Regions from separate parts of the Homo sapiens genome. Here all the other regions are linked to region 2. Evidence: promoter capture Hi-C in 16 types of primary human blood cells and fetal thymus (Javierre and others, 2016). All regions are on one chromosome and are shown on one strand. Each heading gives the region's core, a stretch centred on a gene start or on the middle of the fragment in contact. The rest is flanking DNA. Distances are from core to core; before and after follow the strand shown. Region 1 overlaps WDR45B (WD repeat domain 45B). Region 2 holds the start of TEX19 (testis expressed 19). Region 3 holds the start of FASN (fatty acid synthase).

What was found. Contacts are between HindIII fragments. The CHiCAGO score rates a contact against its expected background, and 5 or more counts as called.
Region 1: a fragment that was not itself captured here is called in contact with the fragment with the promoter of TEX19 in region 2 in 1 of 17 cell types (activated CD4 T cells); the score reaches 5.1 in activated CD4 T cells.
Region 3: a contact is called between the fragment with the promoter of FASN here and the fragment with the promoter of TEX19 in region 2, in 8 of 17 cell types (neutrophils, non-activated CD4 T cells, monocytes and 5 more). The highest score is 13.3, in neutrophils.

Annotation. Positions count from the first base shown.
Region 1 is chr17:82,624,379-82,627,078 of GRCh38, reverse strand. It overlaps WDR45B (WD repeat domain 45B), which reads left to right. Exons shown (of 10, transcript NM_019613.4): 5 at 1,596-1,690. Among named protein-coding and RNA genes, the nearest start is that of WDR45B, 23 kb to the left of the region's middle. The HindIII fragment of the contact is 5,498 bases long and covers 1-2,700 here.
Region 2 is chr17:82,357,797-82,360,496 of GRCh38, reverse strand. It overlaps TEX19 (testis expressed 19), which reads right to left and starts at 1,250. Exons shown (of 2, transcript NM_207459.4): 1 at 1,212-1,250. RefSeq lists a silencer at 1-64. The HindIII fragment of the contact is 12,499 bases long and covers 1-2,700 here.
Region 3 is chr17:82,096,860-82,099,559 of GRCh38, reverse strand. FASN (fatty acid synthase) reads left to right here and starts at 1,324. Exons shown (of 43, transcript NM_004104.5): 1 at 1,324-1,439. RefSeq lists silencers at 152-1,631, 1,702-1,891, 1,912-2,121, 2,182-2,231 and an enhancer at 2,100-2,700. The HindIII fragment of the contact is 59,862 bases long and covers 1-2,700 here.

The DNA of each region.
Region 1 (2,700 bases), core at 176-2,675, 270 kb before region 2:
TTATGACCATAAGGATATAAGGATTATTTATATTGCTGCAAGAAAGGCAGCGAATTGTGTTTGTTTCCAGGGCTCCGCTGGAGGTAAGTAGGTGGTGGCGTGGATGACGTGCGCCACAGTGGACCAGCCAGTGGGTCTCACCGTGGTGAGTTATGTCCCATTCCGACATGTGCAGAGCTGAGGACATGAGTTTTGAGCCTTGAATTACCCTGGGCTTTTAGCCCCTGCTTTGCCAAATGCTGCCTCTCAATAAAGGTTTTCGGTTTGAAGGTAAAGGAAAATTGAATTTTCTGTGTTGAAAGTAGCAGGTGGTTCTGTCAGCCATGGTCTCAGGGGCGTTTAGGGGGAATATGGAAGTTTGTCCTAGTACGTTGAGCAAGATAGCGCAGAGTTCGTTCATTTGGGTTTTTATTTAATATGATTTGCATATTTTACTCTAAGATTTCCATCTCTGTCGGCTGTGGGAGGACAGCAGCCGAGCAAGTTGGATGTAAACAGAGGTCATTTCACCTCCCTGCCCTTTTTTTTTTTTTTTTTTTTTTTTTGGGAGATAGAGTCTTGCTCTGTTGCCAGACTGGAGTGCAGTGGCACAATCTCAGTTCACTGTAACCTCTGCCTCCCGGGTTCAAGCAATTCCTGCCTCAGCCTCCGGAGTAGCTGGGACTACAGGCGCACACCACCAAGCCTGGCTGATTTTGTATCTTTAGTAGAGACAGGGTTTCACCATGTTGGCCAGGATGGTCTTGATCCCTTGACCTCATGATCCACCCGCCTCAGCCTCCCAAAGTGCTGGGATTACAGGTGTGAGCCACTGCGCCCGGCCAACTTTCCTGCATTTTTGTGTGGGTTTGTCATTTTAATAACGTCAATATTTAAAGGCCCTTAGTAATGCAAATGTGGCCGGGCACCGTGGCTCATGCCTGTAATCCCAGCACTTTGGGAGGCTGAGGCAGGCGGATCACAAGGTCAGGAGTTAGAGACCAGCCTGGCCAACCTAGTGAAACCCCATCTCTACTAAAAATACAAAAATTAGCTGGGCATGGTGGTGCACGCCTGTAATCCCACCTACTCAGGAGGCTGAGGCAGGAGAATCGCTTGAACTGGAGGTGGAGGTTGCAGTGAGCTGAGGTTGTGCCACTGCACTCCAGCCTGAGCGACAGAGTGAGACTCCATCTATAAAAAAAAAGTAATAATAATAATAATGCAAACGCTTGAGCCAGATCGAGGATATTCTACTTTCAGACTTTTCTTATTTTTTCCAGACACAGTAGCATAAAAATATCACTTCTGTCTGTTTTGCTCGGTTCTGAACCTAGATGGAGTGTTTGATGATGTCTCTCTGAACCTCAGAGACGTCTCTTAGGCTGACCTTCACCCAGGCGAGAAGCACTCCCTCAGCAGAGCCAGCCCACGTGCACTCGCCGAGCTCCAGGCCTGGCGCTGGCTACCTGCCTCCAGAGCTTTTTCTTCAGGAACACTCCTTTTCTGTGTGGTATTTTCAGTGTTTCTCAGTTTCAGTATGATAAGAACAGGAGCATAAAATGTTTGGGTTTGACTCTTGAGGAAAGCAACTCTGATCATGTTTTTCTTTCCAGAATTGTGGTGGTTTTGGACTCCATGATTAAGGTGTTCACATTCACACACAATCCCCATCAGTTGCACGTCTTCGAAACCTGCTATAACCCCAAAGGTGAGAGATTGAGCAGACGGGTGGCGATGGGAAATGGGTCCACATGGAGATGCCTGTGCTGGGCACTCCCTTCTCCAAGCAGGTCTCTGAGCAAAGTGCTTGGCGAGAGCAATCCTGAGCACAGAGGGGCCTCCAGAGGAGATGGACCTTCCAGGACCCACAGCTCAGCATCCCCAAACTACCTTCTGACCAGAGTCACAGAGTGGGGGCCCCTGTCCCCTCCCACCCAGTGACTATGGGCTCTCAGAACCTCCACAGTGAACCAGGAACCTATGTTTTCACCACTTCGGGAGCCACTGAGTTCTGGACTCAAGCCTTTCCTTCCCTTGTCTTCTGAATTGGAGGATTGATTGTGTTTGACTTTGTCATTTATTGTACCATCTTCATATCTTTTTATATTGGGGGTTTTGCCTCTGGCTTTGTTAGGGTAAAATTTACAAAAAACTGACTCGTTTTAAGAATACCATTTGTGGCCGGGCGCGGTGGCTCACTCCTGTAATCCCAGCACTTTGGGAGGCCGAGGCGGGCGGATCACAAGGTCAGGAGATTAAGACCATCCTGGCTAACACGGTGAAACCCTGTCTCTACTAAAAATACAAAAAATTAGCCGGGCGTGGTGGCGGGCACCTGTAGTCCCAGCTACTTGGGAGGCTGAGGCAGGAGAATCACTTGAACCCAGGAGGTAGAGGTCGCAGTGAGCCGAGATCACACCATTGCACTCCAGCCTGGGCGATAGAGCAAGACTCTATCTCAAAAAAAAAAAACTTCAATAAATTTCCGTCATTGTAAACAGTTGTGTAGCCACCGTCACAGTCAAGACAGAACAGTCGGCCGGGCGCAGTGGCTCACGCCTGTAATCCCAGCACTTTAGGAGGCCAAGGCGGGCGGATCACGAGGTCAGGAGATAGAGAGCATCCTGGTCAACGTGGTGAAACCTCATCTCTACTAAACATACAAAACTTAGCTGGATGTGGTGGCGGGTGCCCATAGTCCCAGCTACTTGGGAGGCT
Region 2 (2,700 bases), core at 1-2,500:
AACCTGAGGGAAACTGGGGGAACCTGAGGGAAACTTGAGGGAACCTGAGGGAAACTGGGGGAACCTGAGGGAAACTGAGGGAACCTGAGGGAAACTGGGGGAACCTGAGGGAAACTTGAGGGAAACTGGGGGAAACTGAGGGAAACTGGGGGAACCTGAGGGAAACTGAGGGAACCTGAGGGAAACTGGGGGAACCTGAGGGAAACTGGGGGAAACTGGGGGAACCTGAGGGAACCTGAGGGAAACTGGGGGAACCTGAGGGAAACTTGAGGGAAACTGGGGGAAACTGGGGGAACCTGGGGGAAACTGGGGGAACCTGAGGGAAACTGAGGGAACCTGAGGGAAACTGGGGGAACCTGAGGGAAACTTGAGGGAAACTGAGGGAACCTGAGGGAAACTGGGGGAACCTGAGGGAAACTTGAGGGAAACTGGGGGAAACTGGGGGAACCTGGGGGAAACTGGGGGAACCTGAGGGAACCTGAGGGAAACTGGGGGAACCTGAGGGAAACTTGAGGGAAACTGAGGGAACCTGAGGGAAACTGGGGGAACCTGAGGGAAACTTGAGGGAAACTGAGGGAAACTGGGGGAACCTGAGGGAAACTGGGGGAACCCGAGGGAAACTTGAGGGAAACTGGGGGAACCTGAGGGGAACTTGAGGGAAACTGGGGGAACCTGAGGGAAACTGGGGGAAACTGAGGGGAACTTGAGGGAAACTGAGGGAACCTGAGGGAAGCTGGGGGAAACTGAGGGAACCTGAGGGAAACTGAGGGAAATTTGAGGGAAACTGGGGGAAACTGAGGGAAACTTGAGGGAAACTGAGGGAACCTGAGGGAAACTGGGGGAACCTGAGGGAAGCTGAGGGAAACTTGAGGGAAACTGGGGGAACCTGAGGGAAACTTGAGGGAAACTGAGGGAACCTGAGGGAAACTGAGGGAAACTTGAGGGAAACTGAGGGAACCTGAGGGAAACTGAGGGAACCTGAGGGAAACTGAGGGAAACTTGAGGGAAACTGAGGGAACCTGAGGGAAACTGAGGGAAATTTGAGGGAACTTGGAGAACCTTAGGGAACCTGAGGGAAACTGAGGGAAATTTGAGGGAAACTGAGGGAACCTGAGGAATCCTGGCCCCGCTTCAGCCTCCCAACCCCTCACCCAGCACCAGGCCGTGTCTCCGAGACCCCTCCTCAGAGACCCCTCCTCGGGAGATCTCACCATCCTGGTGTCTCTGTTCATGTGGGCACCCAGGGAAAGGAGGAGGCAGAGCCCATTTGGGTATATAAAGGGCCATTTCCCATGGTGCTCTGGGCTCATCTGCATATCTCCCATGAGCCTCAGTTTCCAGGAAATGAAAGTGCTGAGTCACCAGCTCCCTCCAAGGAGGGCCATGTGCAGCCCCTGGGCACCTGCAGGAAGGCCCTGGAGAGGCAGCTCCTCTGGGGGCTGGAGATTGGGGTGGGTGCTCTCCGTCTGCAGGCTGGCACAGGGTGAGCATCCAGCCTGTGGTTGCTGGCCCGTCGTGGGCACGACGTCCTGGTCCTGCCGCGTTTGTAAAACGTGATCCCTGCTTTGCTGTCTCTGTCTTAAAGTTCTCTGAATTTTAAGAACCAGCCAATTGTCAATTAGTTATTGTTTAAACACATTTTCCCCTTTGTGGTTCATCTCTTCGCTCTTTAAACAAGACGCTTATAAATTAACACTTGTTTTTTCAGTAGACTCTATTTTTTACAGCAGTTTTAGGTTCATAGCAAAATTGAGCCAAAAGCATGGAGCTCTCCCACCGCTCCCCTGCTCCTGCAGGTGCACAGCCTTCCCCAGTCCTCCCGTCCCAGCCATTTGTTACACGTTGTTATTATCATCATCGCCCTCTGCAGTTTCCATTATGCTTTCCTCCGGTGCTGTGCATTCTGCAGGTTTGGACACATGTATAATCATGCAGACCCACCACTCTAATATTGTACAGACGGGTTTCTCCGCCCCGATTCATCTGTGTTCTGCATTTTCATCACTCCCTCTCCCAGCCCCTGGCAACCAGGAATCTTTTGACTGTCTCCTTAATTTTGCCTTTTCCAAAATGTCACAGAGCTGGACTCATACATTATGTAGCCTTTTCAACTTCTTTTTTAGTAATACGCACTTTGGTTCTTCCATGTCTTTTGTGGTTTGATAGTTCACTTCTTTTTTTTTTTTTTTTTTTTTTTGAGACAGAGTCTTGCTCTGTCACCCAGGCTGGAATGCACTGGTGAAATCACAGCTACTACAGCCTCAACCTCCTGGGCTCCTGTGATTTTCTCACCTCAGCCTCCCAAATAGCTGGGACTACAGGTGCTGGTGCACACCCCGATAAGTTTTGTATTTTTTGTGAGACAGGGCCTCACCATGTTGCCCACACTGGTATCAAACACTTGGGCTCAAGTGATCCGCCTGCCTCTGCCTCCCACAGTGCTGGGATTACAGACGTGAGCCACCTTGCATGGCCAGCTCACTTATTTTTTAACACTGAATGGTATTCCATTGTCTGGATGTACCATGGTTTATTTATCCATTCACCTATGGAAAGACATCTTGGTTGCTCCCAGGTTTGGGCAATTATGAATAAAGCTACTACAAATATTCATGTGCAGGTGTCTGTAGACATAAGTTCTCAACTCATTTTGGTAAACTCTAAGGAGTGAGATTGCTGGATGCTGTGGTCAGAGTGTGT
Region 3 (2,700 bases), core at 75-2,574, 260 kb after region 2:
GGAGAGGAAGGAAGCGGGACACCTGCAGAGGGGCCGGGGGCCCCAGTCTCCGGTTCCCCTTCAGCGGCCCGGGCTTGCTGAGCCCTCAAAGTAGGACACGCAGCCAGAGACACCTGTGGCCTCACAAGGCCCGCTTGCCCCCCATGGGGTGCCTGGCCCCGCAAGCGCGAAGCGGTCAGAAAAGGGAGGCCGCGCTTCAGGGCTCAGGCCGCCCAAGGGGCCACGATTCGAGGAATCACTCGGGAGGGAGGGAGCGCGCGAGGGCCGGGCTGAGCCCCCGCCCGTGGGTGCGCGCCTGGAAAACTCGCAGCCTCCGCCCTGGGAAGTGGGGCAGCGGCTCCCTTTGTCCGCACCACACCAGGTGGGTGTCCCGGCCGACTCCGCTCGCCACGTGGCCGCGCCCCTCCCCTCCGCCGAGCTCCAGCGGCCTGGAGTGCGCTCGCCCGTTCGGCCCTGCGCCTCGTCCGGGTCCCCGGGAAGCTGCTAAGGAGGGGCCGTCGGGTGGGTGGACGTCCGTCTCGGGTCTGGGTTCCCCGCCGCACCCGCGAGGAAAACCGGGGATGCGCTGCGATGACCGGCAGTAACCCCGGCCGGGGCGCCCGCGGCCGGGGTCAACGCCCGCACTTGCGCCGCGGCCCGCGAGGCATCCGGGACCGCCCCGCCGCCCGCCCATCACCCTATCGCCTAGCAACGCCCACCCGCGCGCCGCCATTGGGCCGGTGCGAACACCCCTGGCGCCCGATTGGTTGCTGCTGCCGCCGCGCCGCGCAACGCCGCGCCCTCAGCCAGCTCCGCGCGGGCAGCGACGGCGGCGTGGAGTCGGCGGCCGAAGTGCGGGCACGCGGGTCCGTCCGTCCTTCCGCGCGCCTGTGGGTCCGAGCGCCCCGCCGCAGCCGGCTGGACCCCCGGTGTGGCCACGGGGTAGTCCCCAGTGTGGCCCAAGCATTCCCATCCCGCACACGTGGCCCCGGCGGACACGGGGGTCGGGGATGGCTCGGGAGGCGCGCCGCGGGCTCGGTCGCAGCCGCGTGCGCGTCGGGGCCCGCGGGGCGGGAGGCGGAAGTCGGGGGGCGGTGGTTTCCCGCCCGCCCCGCCCCCGGCGCTCCTCAGTCCCAGCCCCACCCCCCCAGGCGCGTTCCCGCGCAGGGTCCCGGCTCGGGCGGCGGCGCGCACGAGCATCACCCCACCGGCGGCGGCGCGCCGGGTCCCGGGGCGCAGCCCCGACGCTCATTGGCCTGGGCGGCGCAGCCAAGCTGTCAGCCCATGTGGCGTGGCCGCCCGGGGATGGCCGCGGTTTAAATAGCGTCGGCGCCGGCCTAGAGGGAGCCAGAGAGACGGCAGCGGCCCCGGCCTCCCTCTCCGCCGCGCTTCAGCCTCCCGCTCCGCCGCGCTCCAGCCTCGCTCTCCGCCGCCCGCACCGCCGCCCGCGCCCTCACCAGGTACGAGCAGCCGGCGCTGGGGCCGGGGCGCGGGTCGTGGTCGGGGCTGGGCCCGGGGTTCCCGGGGTGGCCCGGCTCCTCATCCTCCGCTCTCGGGGCGCGCGTGGCCCGGCCCCGTATCCAGGGGTCGCCTGGGCGGCCTGTCCGGGTCTCGGTGTTCGTGCCCCTTCGGAGGCGCCCGGGGCCCCGCGGAGTAGGTGGGCGGATGGCGGGGGAAGGACGCCGGGGAAAGCCACCAACAGCCGCCTTCGCTTCCCGTGGGGGAGGCCGCGGACCCTGAAGGGCCTGGAGGAGCCCCCGGCTCGGCCTCCCCGCGCCCACAAAGGCGCCGCCGCATCCTCCTCCCGGAGCCGCCCCGGAGCCGAGGCCCAGCCCGAAGGGGACGCCGCGAGGGAGGAACGGGGGGGCGCAGGGGCCGCGCCGGGACCGGCCTCCCCATCACGTGGCGCAGCCCGGCCGAAGCGCAGGGGTCCCGAGCAGCCCCCGCCCGGGGCGAAGGGAGGCCGGGCGCGCCGCGGTGTTCCCACCCCCTGCCTGGCCGTCGACCCCGCGTGAATAGCAAGCGGCGAGGACCCAGCGTGCGGGCCTGGAGCTGGCCCGGGGCAGCCAAGCCTCTGTGAATCGCAGCGGGTGGGAAGGCGGCCGCCTCCCTGCCGGGACGGCCCAAGGGAGGCCGCACTGCCGAGGGGCGGCGCGCGTATCAGGCCCTGGGGCCTCGTGCAAGTGGCCAGACCAGCGCTGGCCTCCGCCCCCTCCCCCCAGGGCCGCACCAGCCCTCATGCTGGAGGAGGAGCCGGCGGCCTGGGCACCCGTTCCGGGTCTTAGGGACCTGGGCTCCAGGGAGGGCCTCCTGTGGTGTGTGGGTTGGTATGGGGAGGCAAGCGTCTGTGGGTTCACCCGCGCAGGTGAAGGGTGCCAGGCAACACCTGCGTGTCCTGGCCAGGAGTGGTTCTCCAGGTTGGACCCTGCTGGAGGGGTTGGACTGGCTGGGTCGGTCCACAGTGGGGCAGGGGCCACCTTTCCCCCAGAGCATAGGCTATCCCCATTTCGTCCCTCCCCAGCCCTGGTGGCTCTTGGGCTGGCCTGGACAGCGGGCCCCCACCCCAACACGGGTGAGCATGGGTGCTGAGTACCCCCCTCTAGGGCTCCCAGCCACCTCCATGCCCCGGCTTTGGGACCCTGCCTCTCCATTTCTTTGATGGCCCTTAGCAGGCTGGCCACCTGAGGCCTTGTCCCCATCTCAGGTGACCCTGCCTGCTCC